Linked DNA regions of Homo sapiens: regions 2 and 3 are each linked to region 1. The links are contacts of gene promoters, found by promoter capture Hi-C in blood cells and fetal thymus (Javierre and others, 2016). All regions are on one chromosome and are shown on one strand. The core of a region is centred on a gene start or on the middle of the fragment in contact, and the rest is flanking DNA. Distances in the headings are between cores, read along the strand shown.

Evidence for each region. Contacts are between HindIII fragments. The CHiCAGO score rates a contact against its expected background, and 5 or more counts as called.
Region 2: a fragment that was not itself captured here is called in contact with the fragment with the promoter of CHORDC1 in region 1 in 1 of 17 cell types (naive CD8 T cells); the score reaches 5.6 in naive CD8 T cells.
Region 3: a contact is called between a fragment that was not itself captured here and the fragment with the promoter of CHORDC1 in region 1, in 1 of 17 cell types (naive CD8 T cells). The highest score is 5.3, in naive CD8 T cells.

Annotation. Positions count from the first base shown.
Region 1 is chr11:90,220,997-90,224,669 of GRCh38, reverse strand. It overlaps CHORDC1 (cysteine and histidine rich domain containing 1), which reads left to right and starts at 1,621. Exons shown (of 11, transcript NM_012124.3): 1 at 1,621-1,779. The coding sequence starts at 1,716. LOC124902812 (a long non-coding RNA gene) reads right to left here and starts at 1,511. Exons shown (of 2, transcript XR_007062978.1): 1 at 1,250-1,511. The HindIII fragment of the contact is 11,072 bases long and covers 1-3,673 here.
Region 2 is chr11:88,311,421-88,315,093 of GRCh38, reverse strand. It overlaps CTSC (cathepsin C), which reads left to right. Exons shown (of 7, transcript NM_001814.6): 3 at 2,540-2,706. Among named protein-coding and RNA genes, the nearest start is that of CTSC, 24 kb to the left of the region's middle. RefSeq lists a silencer at 2,006-2,206. The HindIII fragment of the contact is 7,019 bases long and covers 1-3,673 here.
Region 3 is chr11:88,339,368-88,343,040 of GRCh38, reverse strand. The region is part of intron 1 of LOC101929174 (a long non-coding RNA gene); the gene reads right to left. Among named protein-coding and RNA genes, the nearest start is that of CTSC, 3.5 kb to the right of the region's middle. The HindIII fragment of the contact is 3,535 bases long and covers 274-3,673 here.

The DNA of each region.
Region 1 (3,673 bases), core at 372-2,871:
TATACTTCTGCGTTTTCCAAATTATCTACCATAAGCAATTATATTCTGATTGTAAAATGCTACAGATGAAAAACTAGAAATAAACATTAAAATTATTTAAAAGGTTTAGTTCACTAACAATCCTGGTAATGTTGCATTGATACTAGGATACTCAAGACAACAGATTTGGTCACAACTAAAACTTTTTAGAGCTCTCCACTTACTCATTTCCAATTGTGTATGATCAATTTCTACGGTCTATTACATTCACAGCCGGTGCAATTGTAAATTGGTACCACCTTTCGGAAAGCAATTGGCTCTATATATCTTTAAAATCTTAAAGTTATTTAAAAAGCCTTATGCCCTTTACCCCAGAACTGTCGCTTTCCAAAAATTTTCCTAAAGGGGGAAATTCGAAATAAGAAAAACAATACACAGGTTGAGCACTGTAACTTATATATAATAAAGTTGGGGAAATTAGAGAAAGGTTAAATTACAGTGCATTTATTCAACAGAATACTCCGTCATTTGTAACAATGACTATGAAACAAAATAGAAAAATACTCACGTTAGGTTAAATGAAGAAAACATACCTATCTATGGTGGATCACAATATGAAAATTTAATACTTCTAGGTAGAAGAAGAGAAAGAGAATATGAAAAACTAAAAAGTCTTTAGGGGTAGGAGGACGTGAGCAGATCTCTAAATAACCTTGAGATCAATGGAAACAGTGTATAGATTTTTAGGTTCACTTATAAGCTGCTGATCTTATTTTAAGATCCTTCAGTATATGTTATCAAAAAGTGTTTGCTTTTCTTGCAAACGCCCATGTTTGGGAAATATGCAAGTTGAAGCCAATGCATTACTGTACTTTTTATAATGCACCTGAAGTTTTACTAGCTGTTCCAAGAGTGGTGTACTGAGTATTGATAAATCGTTTAAGTGGAGGCTCACATGAAATATTAACTATTACCCCAGGGCTTTAGAGCAACTGTGATCAATTCTGGCACAGCATCAGATCCATAATTTTCTTTGCTACTCTGATTTCTACGTTTTTTGTATTTTCAAAGTAATGTGACCGCAACTGTTAAGTTATTAAAATTGCTCCTGAGATGAGGGCACTCGAGACACAAACACACGGAGAGGTTCGTCCGCTATTCCTCTCATTTACTAAGCTCACACGTCTACCCTGAGGATTTGGAAACACTGTATGATTCTGCACTTACTGTGCACTTATCCCTTAGTGCTAAGGGGTAAACAGATACCCACCGGGCTGTCTAAGGCGCAGCCTCAAGGCAAGGAAGAAGGGTGCTGGGTCGCAGGGGATGAGAGGGCGGGGCGGCCACTTTGCTGCAGGAGATACCCAAAGCCAGTTAGCACTGAGGAAGTCAGAAGAGAATTGTCAGTCTCTCGGACACCTTCATTTTCTGCCCCGGAAATTTCTCCTCCGCTGTTGTCTGGGCTCCACTTCCGACCCCCAGTTGCTACCAGCTGTAGTCCGACCTATCGTGGCCCGGGCTAGTGCCAGCCTCCCGCCGCTACCTCCGCCTCGTCCCTTCTCCTCTGCGCCTGCGCGACCGGAAAATTCGCGAAGGTTCCTGAAACGCAACGGATCGTTTCCGGAAGCCGGTAGCCGCCTCAGTCGTCAGACCGGTGCTAGCGACACGGGAGTGGCAAACGCATCCTCTTGCCGTTCCCGGTGTTTGGGCCTTGCCTGTGACGGTGGGAAAAGAAAATGGCCTTGCTGTGCTACAACCGGGGCTGCGGTCAGCGCTTCGATCCTGAGACCAATTCCGACGGTAAGAGGAACGCGCCGCCAGCCCTCCCTCCCCTCCACCTCATCAGCAGGGGAGGCCCTTTGGGCCGGAGGGTGTCCGCGGATCTCCTGCAGCCGTCCTCGCGCGGCCCCAGGTCCATGCCCCTCCTGGGCCTCCCTTGGCTGCCCGCGCAGCCCGCCGGCCGCCCCTCTGTTGCGCCGCGTTCCCTTGGCGAGCGCCCGGCCCCGGCGCCTGACTGTCCTCTGCCACTGCGGAGAGAGACGCTCCCATGGATCCACGTGTTTCCCCCGTCGTCCCCGCACTCCTTTTAAGTCGCCTGGAATTTAGAACGAACACGTTTCTCCTCTGGCCCTCCAGTCTCTGGGGAAGCAAAAATTAACGAGGTACTGGTGAGCTTGCTTTGTAGTTCCCGAAGTAGTGATGGCTGTGATTGCCTGCGCGAGAGGGAGAGGTGGCCGGGATGAGCAGCGGGTTGTCCTAGCATGTAAGCTCTGCCTTGTAGAAGTTTGTGTTCAGTCGATCCGCTGTTACAAACCTCTTACAAGTGTTCTTGGTAAGGGACATTACTCTGTATCTTCACGCTGTTTTGATAGGTTCATCCTGGTGGTACGTTAGTTATCTTTTTATTACTAGCGGCATTTGTTGCTTGTTCTTCTTGTGGCCTCCACGTTTTACTACCATGCCTACTCCCGTATAAAATGAGTGAATGTCATCTACAGCACCTAGATGTCGAGTTAAGGATCCAAAGCGAAAATGACTATTAGGTGAAGGACGGGAAATGATCAGTGAATTGAAATTTTGATTGACAAAGAAGTGAGATGATTCCTTGCGTATCGTGAGAAGTGACAACACGTTTTCAGATTGAACTAGCATTTAGTTTATATTTTCTGCATGCCAGCCATTATTGCTTTATCTTATTTAATCTTCATAACCACCCTGGGACGCATGTAATGTTAATTAGACCCATTTGATAGAGAAGCTCAGTTCAATGAGGTTGTATTAATAACATCCTTCATTATTGTGGAGGAGATGAAAACTGATGCCTTTTGAACTCTTCACCTCTGAGATGTTTGAAATACTTATTTTTGGCACACAGGTAAATTGATAGCGTTATTTAAAATAAGACCATTGATACAGAGTTTTAAGGAAAAGGAAAATCCAACCTATGCAATACTCAAGTTACCGCCACTGACATTTTTATGATGCAAATATGATGCTACTCATGAGGAAAATTGTGAGATTTCAGTCGATGACAAAATCGAGAAACGATTTTAAAGCCCTTTGGTGTTGGCAGCCTATGTAAAACATTAATTGCACTTATGTCTGCAGATATTCTACTTTAATATAGAATACAGGGGAAAGACTGACGCTTTGCTTATGAGACAATAAAGTTCAGGGGCGATAGTCATTTGTTGGAAGTCTGTATCCATGTGTGAATTGGTGCAGTGCCTAGGAAACAGAAAGCGACCAGGAAAACCGTCTCAAAACTTGGGTGGTCAGCAGTACTAGTTACAGCAGAGAAATTCCAATAAGTATATTTACTTTAGCGAAATGACGGTTTTTTTAGAGACTTAGAATACATTTTTCAAGTAAACTGATTGAGTGAATGGAAGGAGAAGAAAATGGAGATACGGAGTAGGAGACAAGAACTAAATAGAAAGGTTGGTTAGGAGGTTTTTTAGGAAGAGGTTTGACCTTGTACAGTTGACAGAAATAAGTTAAAAGAGGTAAATACACAAGCAAGTTCCATTTTGCGTAAGCCAGATGTTGGATCTGTCATCTTTAAATATTTCTTAATCTACACTAAATGCTTTTTTTCTCGGTGCTGTGGCATAATTACCGTGCTCGTTGACTTATAGTCTCATGATTTTTTTTTCCCCCTAGAGACAGAAATTAGACTCCCTTTTAAGCTGAT
Region 2 (3,673 bases), core at 426-2,925, 1.9 Mb after region 1:
ATCCTATAAAGTTACCATGTTACACTGTTTCGATCTACCAAAGTAGAAGTTTTACATAGTTTAGTATGAAGTTAATTTTATTAACCTTTTCACACAACACACCCTCTCATATTGCTGCCCAACAATGTCCTGGGTCTTTGTTTCCATGGTCATCATATTGAGTAGGGTTTTAGCAGGGACTTGAGTAGTTGGGAACTGAACTCATGCTAGTGAAGCCATTCTTCACTAGAAGCAGACATATGGGATCCAGAATATCATGAACAACCAGCTGGGTACAGTGGCTCACACCTGTAATCCCAGCACTTTGGGAGGCTGAAGGAAGCAGATCACCTCAGGTCAGGAGTTTGAGACCAGCCTGGCCAACATGGTGAAACCCTATCTCTACTAAAAATACAAAAATTAGCCAGGCCTGGTAGCACATGCCTGTAGTCGCAGCTACTTGGGAGGCTGAGGCAGGAGAATCGCTTGAACCTGGGAGGCGGAGGTTGCAGTGAGCCGACATCTCGCCAGTGTACTCCAGCCTGGGCAACAGAGTGAGACTCTGTCTGAAAAAAAGAGAATATCATGAATATCACCAAAGATAAAAGCAAGATGCGGATATGAGTAGCCCAGAGTAACTTTTCCTGTGCTATATAACACAGTGAGTGGTGATTCCCACAATTCAAGTCCAGTTTTTCTGGATTCTAAAGCCATACATTTTTAACTCTCCCCCTAAATATGATTTGAATTCAGAGAGTCAGATGCAATAAGGTAATTTTAACTTTAAGTGTAGTTTAGCCCACACATTTCTCTAAACTGGGGGTTGGCAAACTACAAACCTCTTTTTGTAAGTAAAGTTTTATTGGAACACAGCCTAGCTCATTCATTTATGTATTCCCTTTGCACCTTTTAGGTTGAGTAGTTGTGACTGAGGTCTTCCAGCCTTCAAGCCTAAAATATTTACTATCTAGTCCTTCAAAAAGAAGTTTGCCAACCTCTGCAAACAAGTGAAATAATGTGTATTAGAGTAGAGCAGGAGTCCACAAACTACAACCTCTGGAGCCAAAACCACCCTACTGTCTGTTTTTGTAAACAGAAATTTTATAGAAACATAGTTGACCCCTGTGCCAATTTGTTTGAGTCTTGCTTTTGATGGCTTTTGTGCTACAAGGGCAGAGTTGAACAGTTGCAAGAGAACTAAGTGGCCTGCAAAGCCTAGTGGTCTTTGCTGTCTGGCCATTATAGGAAGTGTTTACCAAACCCTGCATTTGATCATGGAATCCCAGAATGTTTATACCTTTGAGGATTTTTTTTTCTACTTTCCATATTTTACAGGCAACAGAACTAAAGCCTCGTAAAATCTTGCCCAAGGTTCTACAAATAGTCTTTTCTATTAAATTAAGTCAGAGCCTGAAATTGTCTGTGCCCAAGTCTCTCCTCAGAAATTTAGCACAGCATTTTCCCTTTCTGTCTCCCACATGCTACACAGTCATCCTGGATCATGTGCCCCGCCTCCATGAGGAGATGTTCTAACATGAGGGTGACTAGGCTCTGGAGCCAGAGCATCTTAGTTCAAATCCTGGATCTGTTAAAAATAATAGTTATTTTTCAGTTCTAACACTGAAATAAGACAAAAGGCCATATTACTGAAATAAAGTGTAAAGAATATATTTAATACTCAGGTTACTTTAGCCCCCTCATGATCAGAATATGCTAATAAATTGAGAGATTGACAGAAAAAAAGGATTCTGTTTCACTGTGGCTCACACCTGTAATCCCATCACTTTGGGAGGCCGAGGTGGGTGGATCACTTGTCTGGAGTTCAAGACCAGCCTGGCCAACATGGCAAAACCCCGTCTCTACTAAACAATACAAAAATTAGCCAGGCGTGGTGGTAAGCACCTTTAATCCCAGCTACTCGGGAGGTTGAGGCAAGAGAATCGCTTGAACCTGGGAGGTGCAAGTTGCAGTGAGCCAAGATCACACCACTGCACTCCAGCCTGGGCAACACAGCAAGACTCCATCCCTGGAAAAAAAAAGTTCATCATTTGTTCTTGTAGTTTCCTAGTGTGGCCCTTGTCTCAGTGGAAAATTGTAGTGTGATAGACTGAGGAGAATTCTGTTTCTGCCACTTCGCCTGTTGCCTTGGTAGGAGCTCCTTATCTCTGAGCTGAGCTCCTTTTGTCCTTGGTAAAATGTGGTTATTATCATCTGCATCCTCATAGTCTTCTTGTAAGGACTGTGAAGTCACTTTTGAAAAATGCCTTGAATATGCCAGATGGTCTGTTTTCTTTCTTTTTTGTTTTGTTTTGTTTTGTTTTCCCTTGGCCTTCATTCCTGGAAGTGTTTTGTTATATACATTTTGTTTGGTGGCCAACAGTGCTAACCACAGAAAAGTTTGTATGTCTTCTTTTTCTAGAATAATTCTTACAGTGTAACCTCTCAGGGTGAAGTTTTTGTTTTGAAAGGGGCACATTTACTGTGAATGAGAGCCATGGAAATGGACCTGAAATTTGAAGACAGATTTTACTTGGTTTTCTTTTCTCTTATTTGTTTGCAGTATAAAGAAGAGGGCAGCAAGGTGACCACTTACTGCAACGAGACAATGACTGGGTGGGTGCATGATGTGTTGGGCCGGAACTGGGCTTGTTTCACCGGAAAGAAGGTGGGAACTGCCTCTGAGAATGTGTATGTCAACATAGCACACCTTAAGAATTCTCAGGAAAAGTGAGTTGCTACAAATGAGACATACGTTTAGTTTTGTTTTATAGTATATATGAATATGTGTGTACATTTTTGGAATTTTAGTTTGATTATACAAAATATCTTTGGCTTAGAAATATTAGGCATGCTATGTAAAACCTTACTGGAAAAATAAATTGACCAACATTATTGAGAGTATTTTTTCAAAGTGTTCCAAAAGTAATGGACCAATGATTACTTTAAATGAAATCATGTAATGGACCACAGAATTGCAAATTACTAATAAAGAAAAGCCATTTTGCTTATTGCCATGTAATAACATGTTGCATGATACAAGTAGATACGTATGTTTATGCTGCAACAAGTATAGGTGATACTAATTGGGCAACTTTTAAACAAGACCATAAATAACTGAAATCAAAGTTCTTAGTATTTATGCAGCCTGTTGGTTTGCGAGGGCTGCCATAACAAAGTACCACAGACTGGGTGGCTTAAGGAAGGTTGTTTTTTCACAGTTTTGGAGGCTAGAAGTCCAAGATTGAGGTGTTGTCAGGTTTGGTTTCTTCCAAGGCCACACTCCTTGGCTTGCAGATGTCTGCTTGCTTACTGGGCTCCTAAACAGTCTTTTCTGATTGTCCTAATGTCCTCTTCTTATAAGGGCATCAGTCATATTGGATTGGGGCCCACCCATATGACCTAATTTTACCTTAATGACCTCTTTAAAGCTCTGTCTCCAAATACAGTCATATGGCTGTGATACAGGGGGTTAGAATTTCAACGTATGAATTTTGAGGGGGACACAATTCAGACTATAAACTGCAGTTAATGTTTACTGTTAAATTAAATCTATAACTGACTAAACCACACAAACAGGAGATTTCAAATTAGACTTTATTAGTTTTGGAAGGAAGAGATGAAATGTTGTTACTTTTTCTGTTTTATGTAGTTGTAAAAGCCACTAAAAATGTACATGTACAAATCATCCCAAGCC
Region 3 (3,673 bases), core at 792-3,291, 1.9 Mb after region 1:
GGAGAGTCGCCACCAGCAAGGAGACCCTCAACAGTTGTGGCCCCCTGACCATGAACTTCCTAGCCTCCAGAACTGTAAGAAGTAAAAGTCTTTTCTTTATAATTACCCAGTCTTAGTTATTCAGTTATAACAACAGAAAATCAACTAACACAGAAAATTGGTACAAAGGAGTAGGGCTGTTGCTAATAGTGAATACCTGAAAATATAAACATGGCTTTGAAACTGGGTAATGAACAGTCTGGAAGAATTTGGATGAGCACGCTAGAAAAAGCTTGTATCACTGTGAATGGAGCATTAAGGCTGATTCTGGTGAGGGTTTAGTAAAACAAAAAGCTAGAGAAAGTCTGAAACTCCTTAGAGATCATTTAAGTGGTCATGATCAGAATGCTGATAGAAATATGAATAGAAAAGACCATTCCGATGAGGTCCCAGATGGAAATGAGGAACAAGGTATTGGAAACTGGAGTAAAGGCCATCGCTGCTATAAACTGGCTAAGACCTTGGCTAAATTCTGTCCATGTCCTAGGACTTTATGAAATGCAGAACTTAACAGTGATAAACTAGGATATCTGGTGGAAGGAATATCTAAGCAGCAAAGTATTTAGGCTACTAAATGGCTTCTTTTAACTACTTATAGTAAGATATAAGAAAAAACAGAATAGAAAAACATTAGAAAATTTGAAGCCTGGCCACCTTAACAGTGAAAGGGGTGTTTGGGTATGGTCAAGAGATTGCTAAAGAGGTCACCATGGATAGAATGAAGCCAAAGGCTATCCATGACAATGAAATTAAAAACCCCAGAGGCATTTCTGGGATCTTTGAGGCTGCCCCTTCCTCATAGGCCCTGAGCTCTAAGAGGGCAGAATAATTCCGGGGATGGACTGCTGCCCAGGGCTGCTTTGGGTCTCTACTCCCTGCGTTCCAGCACACTGCTCCTCAGCGCCCCCAGCTGTGGTTCAAGCAGCCACAGGTGCAGATTAACCTGCAGCTCTAGGATGTACAAGTGGTAAACCATGGCAGTATCCATGTGGTACTAATTCTGCAGGTGCATAGAATGCAAGAGCTGTGGAGGCCTGGCAGCCTCCACCTAGATTTTGAAGAATGTGTTGGACTGTCTGAGGGTAGAGCTACTGCAGAGAGCTTCCACTAGGGCAATACGAAGTGGAACAGTGGAACTGGGGTTGTTGCATAGAGCCCCCCTAAGGGCAATGCCTAATGCAGCTGTAAGAGCCAGACTGCCACCAGGACCCCAGAACAGTAGAGCCACCAGCAGCATGCAATACCTGCCTGGGAAAGCTGAGGGCACCAGGGTGCCTTGAGGCCTCCTGAAATACCCCATCCCCCAATGTGCACAAGATGCTGTACATGGAATCAAGAAAGATTATTCTCCAGCCTTAAAATTTAAGTCTTCTCTGCTGAGTTTTTGACTTGCTTGGGCCTGTTACTTCTTTCTTCTGGCCTGTTTGTCTCTTTTGGAAAGGGAGTGTATACCTTATACCTGTCCCACCATTGTATCTAGGAAGTAGATAACTTGTTTTGATTTCACAAACTCCCAGATGACACTTTAGACTTTTGAGTTGGTGCTGGAACAAATTCAGTCTTTTGGGACTACTAGGATGGAATGACTGTATTTTGAATTGTGAGAAGGCCATGAATTCTGGGGGTCAGGGACAGAATGCTGTGGTTTGAACATAGGTTGTCCCCCAAAAGTCATGTGTCGAGAGGTGGGACCTTTGAGAAGTGATTGGCAGTGCCCTCATGAATGGATGAATCTATCATGGGTTAATAGATTAATGGATTATGGAATTATCAAGGATTAGTTATCATGAGGGTGGGTCTGTAATAAGCACTAGTTTGGCCATCTCTCATGACCCCCTTTGCCACGTGATACCCTGTACTACCTTGGGATTCTGCAAAGAGTCTCAACCAGCAAGAAGGGCCCCCTTCGATGGGGCCTCTTGACCTTGGACTTACCTGTCTCTAGAACTATAAAAAATAATTTTCTTTGTTTTAAATTACCGAGTCTCAGGTACAGTTCTAGCAACAGAAAACAGACTAAGACAGATGCTGATGTCCCTGGTCCTAGGCTACACTTTGAGAACCACTGCCAAGTAATGCTGCCTCTCTGTAAACCTGCTTTTAATGATGGGAGCCTACTGACAGACCATGTTTTGCACATAAGCTCACTTTTGTTTTATATAATTTTAACATATACTGAATTTTTGGGAATGCAACCTCTTGATAAACCTTCAACAGAAAATTCTACTTTGTTCTCCTGGGAATTTGACCAAGAATTGTCCAACATCAACAACTTTGGTATGGTGTTTGAGTGATTAATTGATAAGGTATTTGAGTTATAACTCATCAGAAATCATTTGTGCTCTCAGAAAAAAGTTCCTATCACATTTACCACGATTCTACAATTTTACATAGAAGTGAAACCACCTTTGCAAAAATTACAACTGTGAAAGAAATCAGACCTAATCGACTCCATCTTGCTTCTAATCTTTAAGCTGTCCTTTTTCATTCCTGGGCATAGGTGGAACAAACTTTGGGAAGTAATTCAGTTCATGGTTTGACTCTGAAACAAAATTGATAATAGCCCTTTCCCAAAAAGACTCCCTTCTTGCCTGGGGACCAGTCTGCCTTCGCAGGACTAACAAATTAGCTACAAGATTAGAAATTACAGTTTAGGGGTCATGTGGCCTCTGGCTCCAAGAGTCTGCACCCTCCCACCCTCCAAGTTGCTTCTGGGGATAACATCTCTATTGTAAAATCTAAGATCAGTGCTTGAGATATTTTACAGACCCTGCACTCCATAGATCAGCTGACACCACTGAGACCAGCAATCTGGCTCAACCATATCTGCCATCCCACCCAGGAACAGAAGATAGCAAGAAAAACTCACTTAGACCCCCTATGATTCCATCTCCAACCTAACCAATCAGCACTCCCCACTTCCCAAGCCCCTACCCACCAAATTATCTTTGAAAACTCTGATCCCTGAATGCTCGGGGAGACTGATTTGAGTGATAATAAAACTCCCGTCTCCCCCACAGCCGGCTCTGTATGAATTACTCTTCCTCCATTGCAATTCCCCTGTCTTGATAAATTGGCTCTGTCTAGGCAGCAGGCCAGGTGAATCCATTGGGTGGTTACAGAAGTGTGAAGAGCAAGTATCTGAGTGCCTCATTATGTTTTCCAACACAGTCATACTTGAACATTTTACATGATGGGATATAACTTATTATACTAGAAATATATTTAAAATATCTGATTTCTTCTTTATATTACATTTGGCATTACATTTCTTTTTATTAAGTGTGTAAGCAGTTTATATATTAATTTCATTTCAGAAAGTAAAGGATTTGGGGTCTGATCAGTTTGAGAATCAATTTTTTGTGTGTGCGTGGAATGGAGAGTTAGTAGTTATTTTTGAGAGAGAACAGTATGGGAATTATTAGATTAGTAGAAATAAACTAAACTGAAAATCAATGTGCCTGAGGTTCATTCTTAAATCTTACTAAGTGGCAATATGACATTCAGCAAGTGATTTAACTCTCTGAATCTCCATTTCCCAATTTTAAAATGAATCCATTAGACTAAGAGGTCCACAAGATCTTTTTCTATTATTCAATCATTGAATAAAGACTGTTTTAAACTTTCTTTACAA